4 separate regions of the Homo sapiens genome follow, and all the other regions are linked to region 2. The links are contacts of gene promoters, found by promoter capture Hi-C in human tissues and cell types (Jung and others, 2019). All regions are on one chromosome and are shown on one strand. The core of a region is centred on a gene start or on the middle of the fragment in contact, and the rest is flanking DNA. Distances in the headings are between cores, read along the strand shown. Region 1 has its middle 4.9 kb from the start of LINC02629. Region 2 holds the start of NRP1 (neuropilin 1). Region 3 has its middle 110 kb from the start of LINC02629. Region 4 has its middle 75 kb from the start of LINC02629.

Region 1 (2,718 bases), core at 81-2,580, 560 kb after region 2:
CAAGGTGTATACATTTAATATGCTCTTGCTGAAGCCCTACAGCAAAGGGTGGTGGTAGGATTAATTTAATGACCAAACTGTCAACCTCTTGAAATAAGTATGGGCATGTTTCTAGTGCTGGAAAGACCAAAAGTGCTTCATGAAAGGCGGCTAGGCATGGGGAGTGGGGTCAGCTGGTGACACTTGACTTGGAGAGTATCACTGTCCCTGGCCAAAGCCCTCCAAGGTCTTTAACTATTAAATAAAGGGGTTCGGAGTGCTCTGATGTTAATTTGTTTCTTGCTACCTCCTAAAACTGTGGGTAAGGTGAATACATTTGTTTAGAATGCCTCTTAGCTAGTGAGCCAGGCCATCTGTAAATAGGAAAGTTTTCTTGCACAGGAAAGTCTACCTTATCAAGTTGCTTTAAAGAAGAGAGTCAACATGCTTGTGTTGGAAAAGCAAGTGGTAGACTTTTGAAACCAGCCCAATTGTCCCACAGAACTGATGTTTCAGTCTCATTAAATGAACATAGAAATTGGCCCTCCTGGTCTTAAAGCTTGAAACTTGCATTCATCTTATGTGAGTTCCCCCCTCAGGAAACCTACTCTCAGTCCTCCCAGATGGTATCAAGGAACTGAAGCTCACCAGATCACCACATGCAGACCATAAGAAGCCAGAACCCTCATCCCTCTTTTTTTTTCTTTTTTTTTTGAGACAGAGTCTTGCTCTGTTGCCCAGGCTGGAGTGCAGTGGTGCAGTCTCAGCTCACTGCAACCTCCACCTCCCTGGTTCAAGCGATTCTCCTGCCTCACCTTCCCAAGTAGCTGGGGTTACAGGCGCCTGCCATCACGCCTGGCTAATTTTTTGTATTTTTAGTAGAGATGGGGTTTTGCCATATTGGCCAAGCTGGTCTCCAACTCCTGGCCTCAAGCTATCCACCCACCTCAGCTTTCCAAAGTACTGGGACTGTGCCGGGTCCCTCATTATTTTCTTACCCCTCTGTAATTCTTGTTTACCTGTATATAGTTATATTTTATCCCTGCTATATAAACCCCTACTTGTAGTTGGTCAAGGAGATGGATTTGAGACTGAGCTCCCAGCTCCTCAGCTGCAGCACCCTATTAAATCCTTCTTCCCTGGCAGTCCTCATTGTCTCAGTGATTTGCTTCCTGTGCAGCCAGCAGCAGGACCTAGACCAAACTCCTGGTGTGTCAGTAACACTTTCACTCCATGTCAGATTTAGCATTGCTTGTTATGGTTTATGTATTGATTAACTGAAGAAAACTTGGTGATCACTTCTTTTATCCAACAAAAATATCTCTATTCATGCTTTCCATTCACATCCTGCAAAGGCACTACCCCTCTTCTCCTACCCAGAGGCCCATCTCCAACCTTTCATCCCTCAGTCTTTGATCTCCTTCCCTGCCCTCATCACATTTTTGGAAACAACCAAAGGGAAGCTTTGAGCTAAGGAAGAAGTTTCTAAGGCCTTGGAAATGCAGCAGAGGTCAAATCTATTCTGGGGCCCTTACCTTGAGGGCCTGGCATGGGAGAGAGGAAGTTTCCACTGCTCCCTCCTGGCTACGATGCCCTTTCTCCCTTCTCTTAGGGGTTAATCACTTTTAAAGTGAGAAACTTATAGAATTGAAATAATGTGGGGCCATATTTTAAAAAGCATTAGCACAGACAATGTCTTAATTTTAAAAACTTCAAGTGAGATACATGTATATGTGGTAGAGATGACATTGTTTAAATATAAACTTCTTCTTGTTGGACGATTTTGCTAGAGCAGAACGTTGTATGGAACAGATCTTCAGAGAGCATCCTCCAGTTGGACAGACAGCTCTTCTTCAGCCAACTATGACAGTAATAATAAAGGGTGCAGTTCTGTGCTGTGGGAAAAGGCAAAGTAAACAAAAAAGTGCACTATGTTCCTTACAGAGCTTTGCTTTGAAACATGACCCATCATCATTGCAAAGGAGGGAAATAATTTCCCACCCTTCAGAAACCTCCCTCATTTGAACTTAAAATTAGGAAACAATGAGCTTTTCTGATTTTAATTTTACTTTGTCAAATAAATAAATTTGTCCAACAGGGCAAAGGGACGACGTGATTACAAACAAAACCACATTGAACTGGCCATGTGAAGTCTCAGGACTCCATGAGTCAGCTCCTAAAGCTTTATGATCCAGCTTTCCTTACCTGCAAGGTGAGATTCCAAAAGCTGACGTCCCATACATTGAGAAAAGTTCTCCAGTAACAACCAAAAGAAAGTTTCTGAACTTTGTGAATACATAGTTCAAATCACAGCATTTATACTACTTTAAGGAACTTTCTTAAGAGACTCATGTTTTTAGCTTTGGCCCTCCTGCTAATTTTTTTCTAAGAAGAATTGCAACAGAAGACAATAGGATTAAAAAACAAAATATTTTCCAAATCCTAGAGCCAACATAAATATGGTGTGTGTGATGTGTGGCAGGATGAGAGGAAAAAAAGGTCATTTGGACCTGCTCCAGACCCTTTGGCCAACCTAGAAGGTTATTTTACCAGTCCAGGGGAAATGGCAGAGTTTACCCCAGAATCAATACTGGGGTCAGAAAACAAAAAAAGCACTGCAAAAAAAATAATAATCCTTTAATTTTTGCTGTGAAAAATGAACACTTCTTTTCTCTATATTAAGCATACAGCAAAAAGTAATTAGTTAATGAATTATATGTTTATGAATTAAAAGGAGTT
Region 2 (2,752 bases), core at 133-2,632:
TAGCTGCTGAGGGAAATCCATTGCTAAAATCACAAAACCTTGAAAAAGCATATTAGAGAGATTAACTTCCATCATAAAGATGTGATTTAAATTCCTGTTGGTATGAGGCCCTCCACTTGCGGTCTCTTATTAAAACAATATACCACAGTAAGTAGTGGATGTTCTTTTCTTCTAATTACTGTGATTGAAATCTAAGCCAGACAAAAGTAAATATTTGATCATTAGTTAATAACAATTGCTGACGACTTACTGTAAAGATAATTGCATACCCTTGCCTGCACTTACTTTACAGTGTGAAGTCAAACATGCCTACAACCAGATCCCATTTTAAAACACATTATTTAGGTTACATGGTACTGTTTAGACCCCAGTATAGTTTTTCATTTACTTAACAGTGAGTGATTTTAAAAGCTAAGTGGAAGCTGCAACTAGCTTAGGGATTTTCAGATATCCTGGTGCCTTACACTGTATATGTCAGATTCCTGTATTGATACTATGTAACTTTCAGTCATACTCCAGACAGATTACGGAAGGTGTACAAAGGCGGGGGAGGGAGTTTCATCAACCCACAAACCGATATCTCTGGCCGTCACCCACCAGAGGAAACGGCTTAGGGGAGCAGCAAAGGAACCAGGAAGTAAGATCTCCTGGTAAAGTGTTCATTAACTTTCAACAGCCATCAGATTTTTGAAAGGGAGTCTCTTCTAATTGCCTTTGGGAGGAAACATTATTAAGATAATTGGCATGCTGATCTGGGAAGGTAGACAGCTCTGTCTTGTAACAGAGGTAAGGAAAAGCCCCACAGCCCAAGGATCAACGTCAGGAGGGAGCCCAAAGACCTGAAATCCTCCTGCTCTAAACCGCCTGATCTCATTTCTTCTTCTCTCCTCCCAGATAAAAGTTTCCTTCGCCCGGGAGTCGGTTGTTCCCGGCTGATCCCGGGAAGCCCCGCCTGAGCCCCGGTCCGGGGCGGGCAGCTGGGAGCCGGGGCGCCGCTGTCACCCGCGCCTCTGCCTGTCACTTACCGTTGCGAAAAGCGCCGGCCGGGGCGAGGACGAGGGCGAGCACGGCGCAGAGGAGCGGCAGCCCCCTCTCCATTCTCCCTTCTCCGGGTCCGCAGGCAGACGCGGGAGAACGAGGACGTGGGGGGAAATGCAGCAAAGAGGAGAATCTAAGCGATCCGAAGAGCCCCAACTCCGCCTAGAGCTGTACAATCCTCAGCCCGTCTTGGAGAAAAGAAAGCAGCGAGGCAATGCCTGGATCCGAGAGGAACGCTTCTCTTTTTGTGTCTCAAGTCGCCTGCATCCTGTCATTTAGCTCCGGCTTCCTCTCCCTTTTCCCACACTTGTTCCTCTTCCAGGAGCCACTGCCCGGGCCATGTCTCAAAAAAAAAAAAAAAAAAAAAAAAGGCCGGGGGGGGGCTGTGGGTGGGAGGGGGAGGAGGGAGGTAGGGCAACACACACCAAAGCCAATTTCCAGGAAGAAAAAAAAAAAATCCGGCTTGTTTCTGGACCCGTTGGAGCCGCGGAGCTGGCGCCCAGGGGAGGTCCGGGTGTCTGCGGGAAGGAGGGGAACGAGCAATGAAAAGATGAGCGGGAGACAGAGGAGTTTCACCAACTGCACCCCCGCCTCCCCTCCTGCGGCCTCCCCCCACTCCGGAGCCCTTCCCTCGCTTCCTCCCGCCCCTCTCCCCGCTTGGGCTCGCCTGTAATTGCCTGACAGGAGACTGGGAGGAACAACTTTCCCTCCGAGTGCTCTCCCCGTCCGTCTGTCTGTCTTTCCCAGAGACCCTGCAGGGATCTCCGCGGGAAGGAAGGCGCTGGGAGTCTGCGCCCCGGTCGCGTGGGTGCGGGCGTCGGAGGAAGGGGCGCGGAGGTCAGTGCCAGCCGCAGGGTCTGGCCAGCCCACCTCGCGTGCTCGCTCTGCACCCCTAGAGGGAGAGCTGGGCAGCTCCTGCAGGCGCAGATCCCGCCGCCGCGCAGTGCGGAGCGCCCGGGAGGTGGCGGCTGCTTCTCGCAACTTCAAATCCCGGGGCCCGCGCCCTCGGCGGCGAGGAACGCAGGGTCACCCCCTGCCACTCCTCATCGCGCCATCCTGAGACCTGTGGCGGGGAGCAGCGGGGCACCCCTGGACGCCCCTGCCCAGAGCTGGAGGGCGAGGAGGGGAAAGCCGGGCTGGAGTGGGAGCCGCACCGCGAAGCCGGGCGAGGGGCAGCAGTGTCGCTGTGGTGTGAAGCGAAGACAGACCGCCTGGGCGGGCGAGGCCGGGCTGCAGCCCCACGCGGCCTCCCTGGCCCGCATCAGGGCGCGCGGCTGGGTGCCCTCTGCGCGCCGCGGAGGCTTCATTGTTTCCCGAGATTTGGTGCCCGTTCCTCTGGGGCAGAGGGAACACCGGAGGGTGGGAGGTGCTGCGCCTTCCAAGCAGGGGGGCAATCGCCGCCCGACCCCGCCCAACCTTGTCTGGGAGCCCAGGTGCTAGGGAGGGGTGTGGAAATCAGGGGTCGGGCGGCCCCCGTTTCTCTGTGCATCCCGAGGGAGGGAAAGAGTGGCGGGGGAGGGGTGCTCTTCGCTGCGCCCTCTCAGTGTCCGCTCCCGGCCACAGACAACGTGCACGCCGGCCCTGGAGCTCCTGCCACCCCCACTTCCCACAGCGGCTCGTGCCCCCAGCCCGCTGGATGCCCCCCAGGCCCGTCCCCGAGGGTTTTCCGAGAAGTGCTGCAGGAAGCGTTTGTAGATGCGAAAAGCAAGGACAT
Region 3 (2,700 bases), core at 89-2,588, 680 kb after region 2:
CTAAGGTCCTCATAAGGGTGGTCTGTAGATCCTATGTCAACCCTTGTTTCTAGCCTGGGACTGCTCCTAGAATCAAGTTTGAGGGGTACGTTGGACATGGTGGCTCATGTCTGTAATCCCAGCACTCTGGGAGGCCAAGGTGGGAGAACTGCTTGAGTTCAAGAGTTTGAGACCAGCCTGGGCAACACAGAGAGACCATATCTCTACAAAAAAAAAAACAACAAAAAAACACAAGAAATTAGCCAGGCATGGTGGTACATATCTGTGGTCCCAGCTACTTGGGAGGCAGAGGTTGCAGTGAGCCAAGATCACACCACTATACTCCAGTCTGGGCAACAGAGAAGAACCTATCTCAAAAAAAAAATGTGAGGGGTGAACTAATTGGATCATGGCCTTCCTTGTCTTCCTTTCATAACAGCCCTCATCTTCACATTTACCCCACAATGCCCTCAGGGCTCTGCTGAAAAATCCTTCCATGTGATGTGCCCTGCTCCTGTCTCACCAAAATGTACCTGCCTTCTAATGCAAGCTGGGTGATTAATACGTATTCAAATGTTAATGAATTAATAATGATAATATTTCCTGCATGGGTATAGTATGACAAATCTGTGTCAAGAATGATGCTGTGTGCACACACATACACTCACACATCACAGCAGACATCACAAATTAGTCACCATTCTCTTTCCAGCTAGGTCTAAATAGAGGTCAATACAGCACTTCAGGAAGCCACAGCCAGTGGCTTGGAGCTCCATTGCAGCAGGTCCCCACACCCTCCACAGTGCACTGGTGGCACCCACATCTCACCGCTGGAGTCTTGCTGCTGAAAAGCATAGTGGACAGAAGAGGGATGACCATTACCATTTTGAAGATGAGAAAACAGATTCTGAAATATTTGTCCCTAGCAAACATCAAGGAAGATAAAGGTATTTGAGGTACATTTAAAATCCTGCCCCGGGTAGTGGGGGCAGGGTGTCAAAACCTGCTCCTCTACGAGAAGGGAGAGGGGTGACTTAAATAACAGCTCACCAGGAAAAGATTTATGGCTTTAGTTGATCTTAACTAAAAAGGAATGAAAATATGACATGCCTCTTGTGTCTATCTGGAGGTGTGAGGCTGCCGCTCAGGGCATCTATGGTGGGAACTGGGAACCTTCTGGTTGCTTCCATTTAAAAGAAACAAACATGTGGGGGAACCAGCAGCAAAGGATGAGAAGGAAAGTTGAAGGGATCAAGGGGGCCTCCGTTAGAAAAGAGAAGAGGTGGGAATCTCATGGGAGACACCAGAAAGCTGACTTGGACTCAATAAAGCAAGGATGTTTAAATGAATAAGGTTGCTCACTTTGCAAGCCCTGTTATTGCAAACATTCCTCTGGGTAAGGAGAATCACAATGTGGGTCTAAGATTCTTTTCATCTCTAATATTCTAGGCTTTCATAGAAAAGTCGCTTAGCTGGGAAGGCCTGAAGCCAAATTTGCTGACACCTGCTCTGACACATGGCCCCGTTCTCTAAGTCCTCTCAGATGATGTATTTGCATTTTAACACAGAACATCAATGCCTTAGAGCAAAGGAATGCATAATGTGGTGAATTTCAGCAACCTGACTGCTGGAGCCATTCCATTTCTATTTTTATTGTATAGGGTGAGTTATCCCCAACACTCATATTATTCCACAGAGCATTGCCTTCTTAACCTATATATAAGCTCAATCCTGCTGACAAAACTCTATAAAATGTCCAGGGATATTTTCTTCTGAAAGAAAAAAAAAAAAAAAGAGGCTGGGTGCAGTGGCTCACGCCTGTAATCCCAGCACTTTGGGAGGCCGAGGAGGGTGGAGCACCTGAAGTCAGGAGTTTAAGAGCAGCCTGACCAACATGGTGAAACCCAGTCTCTACTAAAAACACAAAAATTAGCCAGGTGTGGTGGTGGGCGCCTGTAATCCCAGCTACTTGGGAGGCTGAGGCAGGAGAATTGCTTGAACCCAGGAGGCGGAGGTTGCAGTGAGCCAAGATCATGCCATTGCACTTCAGCCTGGGCAACAAGAGTGAAACCCCATCTCAAAAAAAAAAAAAAAAGGATTAAGGCAAATCTACATAATCATCTGCATGAACTGTACCTTTTTGGATCTTTAGTTATTTGTTGAGTTTTGTGTCAACAAATAACCCACCTGCATGAGCCCTGCTCTTCCTCTGGGGCACCTGAGGCTTGGAGGAGTGGAATCCAGGAACTAGGGGGCGCTGTGTATGGGGAGGAGAGAATCAGAAAACAGACTGTTACAGAGAAGGGGTCCTCTAGACTGTGAAGCCAGCCAAGGCCTCTCACCAGACAGACAGCAAGACCTGGGTCTAAGAAGAGTTGACCCAGAAGGCACACAAGAAGCAGGTGACCAGAGGTACCAACAACAGCACACAAGGGCTTTAGGGGTTAAGATACAGCGGCCAGGGATGGTTAATGGGAACAAAAAAAAAGGAGTTAGAAAGAATGAATAAGATCCACGCTTTGAGAGGACAGCAGGATGACTATTGTCAATAATAGCTTAATTGTACATTTTAAAATAACTTGGTAGGGGTGTTCAATCTTTTGGCTTCCCTGGGCCACATTGGAAGAAGAATTGTTTTGGGCCACACATAAAATCCATGAACACTAATGATCGCTGATGAGCTAAAAAAAAAAAAAAAAATCCTAAAACAATCTCGTACTG
Region 4 (2,700 bases), core at 30-2,529, 640 kb after region 2:
TTTTAATATAGAGAAAGTAAGTCCATTCAGTCACACACTTAGTGAGAGCTCCTCACCAAAGAACACCTATTAAGAATCCACCTGCACATATGGCTCTATAGAGCACAAAACAAAGCTCACCTGTTTCTGAGGAAACCGAAATGTCAGTGCCTGCAAATAATATACTGTGCAAAGATCATATTTTGTTCATGTGGAATTCAGTTTTCATGTACAGAGTAAATTTTTAATGAAATATTTTTCTTCTCTCTACACAAATATCATTCCCAGAATATTCTTCAGAGACAAAAAGACATATAATCTTCAAACTCAAATCCTTTTTTTTCCAATTCAAGTTGCACTCAGATTAAGATCTAGGGGTTTTGTATATTAATAAACTGACTGTGTATCTAACAATGACTCTAGTTACCTGTGGCAGCTTGGTTAATGCTTTAGTACTTCTTCATTAGGAAAGATTTTTTCTGATTTGGGAGCAAGTCAGGGAGTCAGTGTGAAACACAGCTCCAACCTAGAGAAAGACCCACCCGCTAAGAGGTCATGGAGATGACTCAAGTCTCAGTACCAAGGAAAAGGATTAAAATGGTCCACCCATGAAAATCTCTTCCATCCCTTCCTCAATCTCCTGCAGAGAATGCAGCCTCAAGCCCTTGAGATACTGAGAGGGAAAAATATTCTCTCTCCAATATTTCTGTGAAAGACTGTTGTAAGGCAAGAAGAAATCACCTGCTCCTGTGGGAATTCATGGCAAAGAATTCAGTATACACCAAATTATCCATGTGCACTGCAAAAAAGAAGTGGAGAAAAATGTACATCCCTTTGCTCCTGGTCTCCAAGCCCCTTTCTTGCTCCAAATACATCTCCTTTCTTGACCTCTAAAACTTGCCTTAAGTACTCAGCCCCAGTTTGGTCTATATCAACCTGTCCATCCAACTATCTTTACCTCTTCTGAAAGATGCCTCAACAGATTCCTCACCTCTTTCATTGCCAATATTTCCAACGTTTGCTCCTTTGATTAAAATACTCTAAGGCCTGTGTTCTCTCAGTTCTTTGTTTTGTTGAATACATCACGCATCCATACAGAACTGAATAGGGTTGAGGTATTAATGGAGCCCATCACAGCTAACTCCTATGTGCAGCTCCCTTGCAGCCTCCACTCCCGCTCAGTAGCACAGCTCTCATGCTGTGCTTTGCCTGGGAACAGACATTGTTAGGACAGACAGAGGCGTCCCACAGGCAGTCCATCCAGGGCCCAGGTTTGTGCCAGGTGTAGCACTGGCCAACCGGGTCAGTAGTAAATTGCTAACCAAAGTGGCTTTCTTGGGATTCAAACTGGGCATACAGAGAACGGTCAGTTTGTATCCAAGTAGAATAGAACAAAACAAGGAAATACATCATGACAAAGAGACTGCATTGATCCAAAGAGGGCAGAGAGAGTCGTCAGATCCTTGATCTATCTCCAAGTCCAAGGCTCCAATTCTAGTCGGCATCTATCTTGAGTGAGTCTGTTGGTTAAAACAGAAAATGCCTAAATAAGTACTAAACCATCCATTTTCTCTCCAATTTTACCTCCTTCTCCTCTCCCCCCACACCCAAGGATCCCAACACCATTCTTCATGACTCTAGAATCTTCTGCCTCCCTCTACCCCTGCTCCTTCGGCAAATGCATCTCCCCCTACCCAACCACAGAGACAGCTAAGGCAATAGTCCTATACCATCTGTTGAATGCAGAAGAAACGTTCTAAAGTCACTTTAGTTAAAAAGCATTGGCTAGTGTGTAAGAACAGTTGGAAGAAAAATGTCTGAAATATAGAGGAGAAGCAAATTTTTGGAGACTATATCCAGGAAGAAAGCAGAGACCAGAACAAGTGAACATGTGTTAGCATCATCAGTTTCAGAAAGCAGTTTAAGCAAAAGACAAAGACTGGGGGTAAGAACAAACAATTAAATATGGTTCAAAGCTGTCTTTGGAGGCCCGTGGAAAATGGGAATGAGAATCCAAGCAGCCTTTTTGGAAATGTGATATGTAAGTGAAGATGGCTTTAAATGATGACAATTTTCACCTCACTGAGGGTAACTGGCAGATTTTTTTTCCTCTGGCAAACTTCATTTTTATGTTTATTCCTGGTTCCTGACATCTGATTAAGAGCAATGAAATCAACCCATCTTAGATCACGTTTAAGTAGCACTTAGCATTATGCTAGTCTGCAATTGGGGACGGGGACCGTGTTTACCACACCAGTGACAGAAATCCAGCTTGCTTTGCCATACCATTGCAGTGTAGTCCATTTTGTAAAGGATAGAGCCAGTAATTAACTCAAAGGGGGAACGAAACTTGTGTTTTATAGTAAAATAAATGCCTTTTAATCTTTTTAAGCCAAAAAGACTCATTCCCAAAAACCATTTAATTTGATTTCAACTCTGAAAAATCATCCCATAATCACCGCATTTTCTCCTTGCCCCTGGAAGATGGTACTTTTAGCTAAAAGCCAAAGTAGGCACTTTGATTCCTCAACCCAAGTCCTTATACCCTGTGTTTCAGCCAGCACACAGTCCATGCACCATGCTCTGAGGGTGTCTCTTCATCACTTTCCCTGCCACAGTATATGTCATCATCAGCAAAATTCCTGGACACCAGGAAGATCCCACAGATTAAAATTTTATTCTCTGTAGAATGCAAGTATTTGAATTAAAGGGAACCACACA

The links. Contacts are between HindIII fragments. The study calls those that stand out against the background at their distance.
Region 1: a fragment that was not itself captured here is called in contact with the fragment with the promoter of NRP1 in region 2 in 1 of the 25 tissues and cell types used here (aorta).
Region 3: a fragment that was not itself captured here is called in contact with the fragment with the promoter of NRP1 in region 2 in 1 of the 25 tissues and cell types used here (dorsolateral prefrontal cortex).
Region 4: a fragment that was not itself captured here is called in contact with the fragment with the promoter of NRP1 in region 2 in 1 of the 25 tissues and cell types used here (mesenchymal stem cells).

The regions. Positions count from the first base shown.
Region 1 is chr10:33,897,885-33,900,602 of GRCh38, forward strand. No RefSeq gene overlaps it. Among named protein-coding and RNA genes, the nearest start is that of LINC02629, 4.9 kb to the right of the region's middle. The HindIII fragment of the contact is 4,892 bases long and covers 1-2,718 here.
Region 2 is chr10:33,333,285-33,336,036 of GRCh38, forward strand. NRP1 (neuropilin 1) reads right to left here and starts at 1,383. Exons shown (of 17, transcript NM_003873.7): 1 at 1,026-1,383. The coding sequence starts at 1,098. The HindIII fragment of the contact is 10,676 bases long and covers 1-2,752 here.
Region 3 is chr10:34,015,256-34,017,955 of GRCh38, forward strand. No RefSeq gene overlaps it. Among named protein-coding and RNA genes, the nearest start is that of LINC02629, 110 kb to the left of the region's middle. The HindIII fragment of the contact is 3,714 bases long and covers 1-2,700 here.
Region 4 is chr10:33,978,208-33,980,907 of GRCh38, forward strand. No RefSeq gene overlaps it. Among named protein-coding and RNA genes, the nearest start is that of LINC02629, 75 kb to the left of the region's middle. The HindIII fragment of the contact is 8,076 bases long and covers 1-2,700 here.